Regions from separate parts of the Homo sapiens genome. Here region 2 is linked to region 1. Evidence: promoter capture Hi-C in human tissues and cell types (Jung and others, 2019). All regions are on one chromosome and are shown on one strand. The core of a region is centred on a gene start or on the middle of the fragment in contact, and the rest is flanking DNA. Distances in the headings are between cores, read along the strand shown.

The links. Contacts are between HindIII fragments. The study calls those that stand out against the background at their distance.
Region 2: a contact is called between a fragment that was not itself captured here and the fragment with the promoter of IL10RB in region 1, in 1 of the 25 tissues and cell types used here (dorsolateral prefrontal cortex).

Annotation. Positions count from the first base shown.
Region 1 is chr21:33,263,421-33,268,088 of GRCh38, reverse strand. It overlaps IL10RB (interleukin 10 receptor subunit beta), which reads right to left and starts at 1,722. Exons shown (of 7, transcript NM_000628.5): 1 at 1,575-1,722. The coding sequence starts at 1,623. The region is part of intron 7 of IFNAR2-IL10RB (IFNAR2-IL10RB readthrough); the gene reads right to left. It overlaps IFNAR2 (interferon alpha and beta receptor subunit 2), which reads right to left. Exons shown (of 9, transcript NM_001289125.3): 9 at 2,425-4,668. The coding sequence ends at 4,589. IL10RB-DT (IL10RB divergent transcript) reads left to right here and starts at 1,829. Exons shown (of 2, transcript NR_038974.1): 1 at 1,829-2,026; 2 at 2,187-2,457. RefSeq lists a silencer at 1,467-1,876 and enhancers at 2,047-2,116, 2,147-2,206. The HindIII fragment of the contact is 10,877 bases long and covers 1-3,644 here.
Region 2 is chr21:32,731,353-32,737,686 of GRCh38, reverse strand. It overlaps PAXBP1 (PAX3 and PAX7 binding protein 1), which reads left to right. Exons shown (of 18, transcript NM_016631.4): 17 at 279-433; 18 at 2,620-3,788. The coding sequence ends at 2,737. PAXBP1-AS1 (PAXBP1 antisense RNA 1) reads right to left here. Exons shown (of 4, transcript NR_038879.1): 2 at 4,030-4,098. Among named protein-coding and RNA genes, the nearest start is that of PAXBP1-AS1, 6.4 kb to the right of the region's middle. The HindIII fragment of the contact is 7,980 bases long and covers 1-6,334 here.

The DNA of each region.
Region 1 (4,668 bases), core at 473-2,972:
AAAAACAAACTGGAGACTTCCTGATACATTTGATGCATAAAAGCTGAGGTCAATGTCCATTTTGGGCTTAAGCAGCTGGTGCCCCGATTGGAGCTCAGCTGGGGAACTCACGAGTCCCATTTGAGCTGCATTAGGTTGGAGATGCTGGAGAGAGGCTGAAGTAGGAATGTCAGGGAGACAGCCAGATGAATGAGCCCAGAGGTCACACCAAGAAGAGATGTGGGCTAGAGACAGAAATTATTTTCAAACCTTTTAATAGAAAATTCGAAACCTGGCCAGGCATGGTGGCTCGCGCCTGTAATCCCAGCTCTTTGGGAGGCTGAGGAAGGTGAATCACCTGAGGTCAGGAGTTCGAGACCAGCCTGGCCAACATGGCGAAACCCCATCTCCAATAAAAATACAAAAATTAGCCAGGCGTAGTGGCACACACCTGTAATTCCAGCTACTCGGGAGGCTGAGGGAGGAAAATCGCTTGAACCCGGGAGGCGGAGGTGGCAGTGAGGCAAGATCAAGCCACTGCACTCCAGCCTGGGCCACAGCAACAGAGCAAAACCCTGTCTCAAAAAAAAACAAAAAAACAAAAAAACAAACAAACAAAAAAAAAAACGGAAGAAGAAAGAAAGAAAAGAAAATTTGAAACCTACATGCAAGTAGAAAAGTAGAAGACTATAATAAACCACCACCCATCACCCAACTGGTACCAAGAGAGATATAAATGTGCGAGTCATGGGCCTATAGCCCGTGTTTAATGCCAGGGTTTGGCTGAAATCCCCCAAAGGAACAGTGCCAGGGAAGGAGAGAAAAGGCCTTGGGCATCACAATTAGCTACATAGAAACCTGACAGAGCAGGAGGGTCCCAAGCAGAGACAGCCTGACAGGGCGGGAAACCGGAGGGGTATCCCGGAAGGCCAGGGAAGAGTTCATGAGAAAGGAAGGAGGTGACCATGGTGTTATTGGAACCTAGGCAGTCAATTTAGAGGACAGAAAAGGTTTCAATGGATTTAGGTTTAGAAGCCATGGAGCTGGGGCGCTGGGGGACAGAATCCAGATTTCAGGGTGCTCGGGCCTGAACCGGAAGGAGGGGAGGTGCAGCGGGTGATGGGAGGCACATCTGTAGGGAGGGCTGGCACTGAGGGGGCAGACTTGGGGTCAGGGAGGGCTGTCAGGGCACTCGGGGACTGGTGGGGGCCTCCACTTGAACTGATAGTCTCCAGAAGGGTCAGATGACAGCCACGGTGGGATCTTGGGTCTTTTGGGGAAGCTACTTTATTTAGACGCCCGCCAGCAGAGAGCTGCAGGAGGACAGGGAATCAAAAGACGCCGGGAGTCTCCCCCTGAGTTTAGGGCCCAGACGGTCTGTAATCCGGGCGCGGATGGGGCTTTCTCCTGTTACAGAATCGACGGCAGCAGCAGCCTAGTTGCGTCTCAGCAGCCGGCCGTGGCGTTTGCATCTTCTCTCCCGAGGCCCCGAAGGCTCTTAAGTCACTTGCAGGGCGCCCAGGGATGGGATCAGGGGCGGCATCTCGCGGGGCCTCCCGGTTCCCAAGCGCGCCCCCTCCCCGCGGACCCCTCACCTGACACCAGCAGGCAGCCACCCAGCCAGCTCCCAAGGCTCCACGCCATGGACGGACGCTGGGGGTTCCGCGGCTTCCTCCAAGCACACGACCCCCGCCCGCGCCCGGGAGAGCTTGTCCGCGGCGGCTTCCGGGAACCAGCGGAGATGGGCGGGGCGGGGTGGGGAGGGGCCGGGCGACCGGGCTCCCACCCCGCTGCAGGCCCCGCCCACCAGCCCGGGTCCACCCGCGAGGCGCGGGGCACAGGCTTGGCAGATGCACACGAGGAAGAGGAAGGGATCCTCGCAAGCTTTGAAAGGCGCCGTCAAGTCAAATAAATAAATGCCCTACAACACCAACCCAGGACTGAGATCTGCATGCTGGAATGACGGTGGTGGTGGTGGCTTTCAGTATTCCCCAGGTTTTGTCCGGAGCACCGGCACGCCCTCTCTTGAAGTCCGCTCTCCGCACAGGTGAGTTAAAAGCACTTCAGCAGCAAATCCAGTTTGAGGGTCTTCTTTACCCTTCTCCCCAGGGATAAACAACACAAAACCAAGTCATCTTTACGCAAATAACTAGTTTCTTTCAGAGACTACTAAGAAAGCGTTAATTTCCTCTTTTTAACTTGATTAGTGGTTAGACGGGAAGATCCGGAGCTGTCCAGTGTCTTGGGTAATGCACGGCATCGCCTGATGTCTGACGCTAGAACACCACGTAAAGTCAAGCAGAGGGAAGTGAATGCGCCCTAGGCCCCTGCAGGCCACCAAGAAGAGCTAGAGGGAGTTGGTGCAATCCTAGAGATGCCGGCAGGTGCACCAATCTGTGGCACACGTACGCTCTCCAATGGAAGACAACTCAAGACCACACCAAGTTTGTATTAAAAAAGTACTGTTGTGTTACTTTTTACCAACCTCCAATCATTATACAAAATGTTAAAAAATACACAAACACACACACACACTCACAGCCATAGAGGTTATCGCAAAAGATCAACCCAGAATCTTTCAGAATATGACAGATGCACTGAGAAGGCAGATAAATTGATTCAATATACAAAAGGCCTCTTTCCTATGGAATTTCATTAGATTAAATAAGGTGTTCCCTCCTCACAGCCTCATCCTTATGAGCAATCATATAAATAATCTATTTAAAGTCCTTGAACTATAACTTGTATAATTTTTAGTTTTCCCCCTTTGAAGGGGCCTAAGAGAAAGGTTTGAGAAACCAGCTCTTGAGGGGGGCAGGGGTGAGGGGTAAGAGGTCCTGTGCCTTTCATTCATCCTGGGAGCTTCTCAGGATTGCAGCATTTCCACCTGAGTGTTCATTCTTGTACATTTTCTCATCTTTCTCCTGGGTTCCTAGGATCTTGGAGATTACCTAGTCCAATCCTTTTACTTCAGAAACAAAAAACCTGAGGCTCAGAAAGGCTAAGTCAAATGCCTAGGGTCACACAGGGAAACTGTGGGAGTTGGATCCCTGAGTCCCAGTCCTTAAACTGGTTGCTACATGACATTCTAGAACCTCTCCCCACCAACTCCCTTTTTAAAGACAGGGTCTGGTTCTGTCACCCAGGCTGAAGTGCAGTGACATGATCTTGGCTCACTGCAACCTCCGCTTCCTGGGCTCAAGCCATTCTCCCACCTCAGCCTCCCAAGTAGCTGGGACAACAGGCACATGCCACTACGCCCAGTTAATTTTTCTAATTTTGTTTTGTAGAGACAGATTTGCCATGTTGCCCAGGCTGGTCTCGAATTACTGGCCTCAAGCGATACGCCTGTTTAGGCATCCCAAAGTGCTGGGGTTACCGGCAGGAGCAATTGCTCCGGGCCAGACTTCCCTTCCCCCGCCCACACCCCCCCAACCCGGCCTAGATCCACAGGCACTGTAATCACAGCTGACACACTCGACTCGGAATCAGCATAGAGAGCACTCTGAAAATTGTCAAATAGGGTCCCTGAAACTTGTATACCATACTTCTCCTGAAGATCTTGAAGCATCTTTGTGTTTGCTTTTTTTTTTTTTAACTTAAAATATGGCATTCAGGTTTTATCCCTCTCCCCGACGCCATGTTTCCTTTCTGTATTAGTCACACACGTGATCCTAAAGTCTGTCTTCCCCACTTTAACTGGGGAGGGCTGGACAAGGTGGAATTCCAATTGCAGGAGACAGGATGTGACATGGGTGAGGTGCCCAAGGCTCACCGACTGAAACTTCGATGGCTCTTCCCTGTTTCCTTGTGCAGGGCCCCCCTTCTCTCCACTGCTCACCTGGCTCTCCTCCTCCCTTCCTGCCTGCTTTGCAGCTCTTGCTACTATTTTCCTTTTCTTTCCCTGCTCCCACCCTGGCCCAATTTATTTCACAGAAATATCACAGGGCCAGCCAGGCACAGCGGCTCACCCCTGTAATCCCAGCACTTTACGAGGCTGAGGAGGGCAGATCACTTGAGGTCAGGAGTTTGAGACCAGCCTGGCCAACATGGTAAAATCCTGTCTCTACTAAAAATACAAAAATTTGCTAGGCATGGTGGCAGGCGCCTGTAATCCCAGCTACTTGCGAGGGAGGCTGAGGCAGGAGAATCACTTGAACCTGGGAGGCGGATGTTGCAGTGAGCCAAGATCACACCATTGCGCTCCAGCTTGGGCGACAGAACGAGACTCTGTCTCAAAAAAAAAAAAAAAAAAGAACGAAAGAAGAGAAATATCATAGGGTCCTGGACCACCTCTGAAACTGTGGGGAACCCTGCTCCCTGGTAGACATGATGCAGAAACATCCTAAGTGCATTAGTGTAAAGGAAAGGTGCACATGTGCTTCCTTCAAAGTGCACCACTTTGAATATGTAAACAATGCACTGAATGATACTATGGTCCCCATACTGGGAATGTGCATAGGTGATGTCACCTGGAAGAAAGGAACACCACAGTTTCCTCCTCCTTCCCTTGGAGAACACTTGCAGACGATAAGGCAGCAAGTTAGGATGCAGAGACAAAGAACCCTGTAGGTGCTTGTCTGTCCAAGTTCATTCAATAGTTTTGGAGTCATCTCATTATATAACCATCCCCAAGGTCAACATCTGACTCAGAAGTGTCACTTTGATCAGATGGAGCATCTTCGGACC
Region 2 (6,334 bases), core at 2,660-5,159, 530 kb after region 1:
AGTTGGTTGTCAGTTTTATGTTACTAATTTACTCAAATATTGGACAGATTATCTTTTGCTTTGAGTGCCTAACCCATTGGTTGGGGTAAAAATTTAGGTATATTGGTTTAGTTAATGTAGGAAGTCAGATTTAAAAGAATATTTCTTCAGAGTAATTGCTGTAGCTCAGAAGCACGTCTTCTGGTGAAATACATTTATACCCATTAACTAGACTTTGCTTTTAATACTTTAATTTATTCTGTCTTAACTATTTTATTTTACGTCTTTCTTCTCCACAGGTAATCAATTGTTTCCCCAAACAATGGTTCATGAATCTGAAAGGAGAAAGGACTATTTCTCAGTTAGAAAACTTTTGCCGATACCTTGTACACTTAGCGGATACAATTTATAGAAATAGTATCGGGTGTTCTGATGTGGAAAAAAGAAATGCAAGGTAATTTTGTAATTAATGAAATGGTAATCTAGAGTTGTTTAGTTGCCAGATTTAGTATTAAAATGTTTTAAGTAGAGATGTTTATATTTTAGTTTAAATTGTATGTTCACTTAGTATTATAAACCTACCAAAAATGCACATAATTTTTCATTTTAGCAGTTTTTACTTTTTTTCAGTATGTTATTTATGAAGATACTAAGGAAAGACTTCTGGTAAGGACCAACCCTCAGGGGAGTGAGTAAACGGTTGTTTTCTCTGTCTCCCTCTTTGAAGAATTAGAGAGGTCTCAGACTCTCTTGTTTGGAGTTTCATTATGCAGATTTAAATTCAAGTTTATCTCCCAATTTGGGGAGATTTTTTGTTTTAATCAATATTATGAACTAGAGGTTATCACTCATGGCTTTTTGGGGCAACTTATTTCTAATTTTTATCAAGGGTTGTAAGAAAAGAGTGAGTGAACCATTAGCCTTTCTGTGGACATTAATTTATGGGTGTTCAGGTAATTCTGGGATAAATCTCTAGCATAAAAAGTAAATAATAACACTAAGTAGGGCAGTTTGAAGGAATTGTCTTTTTAAAATTTTAATTTCATATATCTTCATAATGTCAAAGTCTAATTTTTGTTTAGATCACACCATTAGTCATACCCCTATAACAAAACCTTCTTCTGATCCCTCATTCCCCTTTCTTGAAAAAGGACCTATTTTCCTGCAAGAAAATTGGATATTTTTTCCACAATAAAATTAAAGTAGCTATTAAAGATTTTAGGCCAGGCATGGTGGCTCATGCCTGTAATCCCAGTACTTTGGGAGGCTGAGGCAGGTGGATCATGAGGTCAGGAGATGGAGACCATCCTGGCCAACATGGTGAAACCCTGTTTCTACTAAAAATACAAAAATTAGCTGGGTGTGGTGGTGCGTGCCTATAGTCCCACCTACTCGGGAGGCTGAGGCAGGGGAATTGCTTGAACCTGGGAGGCAGAGGTTGCAGTGAGCTGAGATTGCGCCACTGCATTCCAGCCTGGTGAAAGACCAACACTCCGTCTCAAAAAACAACAACAAAAAAGATTTTAATGGTAAAATTCTTTGGCAGGTTTTGGCTGATTTGATTTTGTTCTTAGTGTGTGCCATTTTGTTATTTGTTGGCACTAATATTTTTTTCTCTGTGTTTTCTACTAGATAAATTTTATCACATTTTAAACTTTGATTTACATATATTTAACAGTGTTTCTGTTTGGAAGTTAAATATCAACAAATAGTGTTTACTTTTCTACAGAAAAGAACTTTAACAGCTATGTAAGCACCTGCTTTGTGCAGTGCACATAAAGCAGGTTTCATGTGGGTTGGAAAGTTTTGCAAATTCTAATTCTTCCCTAATAGGTGCTTACTACAATTCTGTAGAAGAGATGAGACAATTACTAATGTCATATTATGTCTTGTTTCTCGTGAGTGGTTTAAGCTAAATGTTAAAACAGTCATTCTTAAAGTGTGGTCCCTGGACCAGCAGTATCAGCATGGCATGGGAGTCTGATAGACTTGCAAGTTCTCGGGGCCCCACTCTGGGCCTCTTGAATAGAACTCTTGGGGTGGGGCCAGGGATGATCTGCATTTCAACAATCCTCTAGGTAATTCTAATGTGTGCTAAAATTTGAGGATTACTTCCTAGTAAGAAAGCAGAATGACTTCTAGCTGGAGTGATAAGGAAAGTCAGATTATACTTTATTTAGTGAATTTTGGTGGAGTGGAAATTATGCTGGATCTTGACAGATTGGTGATGAAGAGACACAAATAACGATTTGTGTTCCAGGTATACGCTAAAACAGCCAGGACTCTGGTTTGGGAAGGAATGGGAGACAGGCCTCTGAAGTAGTTTGAAAACAGATTGCTTTCTTTTCTTTCTCAATATTAATGAAACTCATTGATCTCAATGAATTTTGTTTTGCTTTTTTAAAATGGGTCCCCTGTCTCTGGGCTAGTCATTTAAACATATGTAAGTTTTGTTCTATATGGATAAATGTAAACTTTTTTTTTTTTAACATGCTGTAGCTTGCATATCTGTTTCCTTTCTTTGAAAATGTGTGCTTGGAAAAATTGATTGCAGAAGCTCTAAAATAGCCATGAAATCAGTAGCAAATTTTCTCTTAGATATACTAATTAATGAGATGCTGCTATATTTTTTTCTTTTAGGGAAAACATAAAACAGATAGTAAAACTCCTTGCAAGTGTTCGAGCTTTGGATCATGCTATGTCTGTTGCAAGTGACCACAATGTGAAAGAATTTAAGTCTTTGATCGAAGGAAAATAGATCTATGAGACTGAAAAACCTATTTGCTTGATTACCATTCCCAATGTGTAAATTTTGTATATATGTAAAGTTTCTTAAACTGTAAAATAGCAATTCTTGTTTTAATACAAAAAACATTATATTCAATACTGTGTCCTTAAATGATATTTCTTCAGAATGAAAGGAATTCAGATTATTTCTAGGAGTCTATGAATGTTTTCTTTACTGCCTGTCATACTTTGTTTACTGAAGTATTTTGTATGGTCATTTAAATTAACCCTCTCAGTTAATTGTCCCCTGTAAACGATGTGTGCAGTGTAAATTGTGTAATTATGCATATATATATTTATACCACCATGGACTTACTTTCACACTGGAAATTTGTGGTGTTTTTCCACAGAGGAAGCCTTTTAACAGCAGAAAATTATCCGGTAGCAAATTGTCTTAGGGAAATTACTACACTGTTGTAACAAAAGGGCTGGCAAGTGACTAAATGTTCATTACCTTTTGGTTAGCGTTGCTATCACTGTAGCTGTGCTGCCTTAACATTGAGAGTTGAGTTGTGGACTTAGTCATTGAGTGAATGTTGAACTTTCTTCCTTGAATCAGCGTTAGAGTCAAATGTGGGTTTAATGTGAATGCTAAATGAATATGCAACATAGTTTCAAATGGAACATAGAAATTTCACTTTTGAAAATAATAAACCCACAACCTAATTGCATGGTTTTGGGCTGACCGTCCTGTCTCATTCATGATTTTACTCCCTGCCCAGCTTGCAGATACATGCATTTGAATTTTAGTAGTCTGTCATATTTAAAATCCCACATATGTGAGTTAAATATGCAATAAAGAATACGCCTTGCTGATTAGCCACACCCAGGCAATTTAATATCCATGGTCTTCTATAATGTTTATACCACATTGTAAATATTCAGAGAACTTGTTTTAAAGTTTATGCTTTCTGATTCTGTGATTTTCAAAAGAGGAATTTTTTTGGAAATTAAGGACTATCGTTTGATAATTATATATGTAATTAAGATTTAGCCAAGCATTAAATTAATTTTTAAATATATCCTTTGTTGTATTTTCCTGACGACTAAATTTGCAGCATTTCAAATGACTCTAATAAAGTGGGACTGTGAGCAGGCCCATGTGTACCCTTGATCAGGACATAATATGCAGAACAGTGTCATGCACTGTATTTGCTCTGTTAATTTTATCTTATCCCTACATATTTGTATTAGTTCATTCTCACGCTGTTATAGGGACATACTTGAGACTAGGTAATTTATAAAGAGGTTTAATTGACTCACAGTTCCGCATGGGTGGGAAGGCCTCAGGAAACTTACAATCTTGACGAAAGGCACGTCTTCACAGGGTGGCTGCAGAGAGAAATGAGTGCTGAGGGAAGGGGGAAGTCCCTTATGAAGCCATGAGATTTCATGAGAACTCAGGAGAACAGCATGGCGGAAACCACCCCCCATGATTCAGTTATCTCCACCTGGTCCCGCCCTTGATGTGGGGATTATTACAATTCAAGGTGAGATTTGGGTGGGGACACAGAACCAAACCAAATCAGTATTCATTCTGGATGAATTTTTCATTACACCTTACTGGCCTACTAAGTAGAATTAAAGTCAGAACACCTATTCCTCATCTTAAGTAGAATAAAACATAAAACATGTATCTGTATCACATACAGATCATTTAGGCCTTAAACTGCATATTATTTCCAAACCCATTAGACTAATTACTCTGCTTTTAAGAACTCTTAAAATAGAGTTTTTATCCTATGAAATCTGTCAGGCTATATTGGTTTCAGGAATGGGTTTGAACATCACACTAGGAATTTGATGTAGGGTACATAAAACAATGGTTTTTCTATCCCAAGCAGAACATTTTTATTCCTGAAATAGCTTAAGGACATTATTTCTTATGAAAGGAATTATCAAAAGATAAATCCAGAGGGTTACATTTTAATAAAGCTGGTTTTGCTTTTCAGTTTTTTCTTTTGGAGCAATCCTCTGAATTAACTCCAAAATAGGTGACAAATGTTTTTGAGAAGGAAAGCTACTTTATTGAAACAACATAAACCACAGTCAAGAGTGACTAGTACTACTGTAGCCAATGATGTCGAAGTCTCACCATGTCCCTGTTCTTGCCACTGGTGTCCTCTTGCAAGTATTTGCTCCTCTGCCTGAGGGCTTTTCTTTGGCCTGTGCAACAGGCTGGAGTGTCCTGGAGATACTTCCTGGAACAGATCTCAGCCAAGGGAGAAAAGGAATTGGAGGCTAAATGCCCCAGTGTGTCAGTTAGGGTCCTCCTGGGAGCAGACACTGAGATGGTATTAAATGTACAGGAAGTTTATTGGGGGAATGCGTATAAGAGAAAACGGAGGGGAGCCTGGAGGAGGCTGGGAAAGCTGTCAGACAATGAGGCAGGCAGGTCTCACCTGTGTGAAGGAAGGAGGATGAAAGTCTTAGACATTGGTGCAGTTCTAAAGTTTCAGCAGGGCCAACTGGCAGCTCTGACAGGTACAACCAGGGGTCTCCTTGCTAGTATGAGATCTGAGAGACAGAATTTCCTGATGACCAAACCCAATTTGCTGATCTCTCAGGAAAGCAGGTATGGTCCACATTGCCTATAAGAGGTCTTCAGTTGAGTAGAGCCATAGTTGCCTGCAGTGGTAACATTACCAGCACCCAGAATTGGCCAAAAAATTGAAAATGCTAATAATCATCCTTGAAATCATGAAACTCTTACAAAAGTAGTCAAATGTTACAGAGCTGCAATATAAAATAGGAAACTGTAAGTTGCTACATTGTAGTGGTTGTTAATGGTTACAAGAGCTCTTCTTATCTCTAACATGGTAATACCCATGTAATAAAGGGAGTCTTGCCATTCACTGATTATGACAAAACATTTGATCTGTTGTTTCAAGTAAATGAAAATGAGAAAAACACTAGCACTACATGTAGGAAGAAAAAAACATATCTGAATGGGAGGTGTACTTTCATAAACGTTTTGAAGACTGCCCTCCAGAAATGAAACTGTCCATGGATACTGGGTTCACAGCTGCTAAAAGCTGCCTCAGACTGCCCAAACACAGGCTGAATATTGTTATATGGGATTGGTATCGACATGCAATGTAGACTGGTCCCTGGCCTGCTTTGGGACTCTAGCCCCCAGTAATTTGTACTGCGTTCCTGTCAGTCCTAACTCCAGCAGCGGCTTAAAGGATACAATCATTCAGTACAATGAAAATCCCTAGCACATGACTTCTTAGGCTCTTGCTAAATATCTTTAGGAAAATGTATGAGAAAAGTTTTGACAAAACACTGCAGAAACCATTTTAAGCTACTTTGCAAAAACATTTTGATCATGAAAGCTTACCTTTTACTTGTAACCTTAGTGACATTGCTGTTGCTTTGGGACCGAGAGCCAACTTGAACAACTTGAATACAGCTCTAATCTTGAAGGTTGAGCCCTGTTTCTGGCTCCGGCACTTTGATTTCCACAAGAATCTTTGTGTTTCATTAAAATAAACCCCCTTCACTTGATCTCTCTTCAGTTGGTCTCTTGTTCCAAATGAAAATACTTCATTTTTATCTATCACAA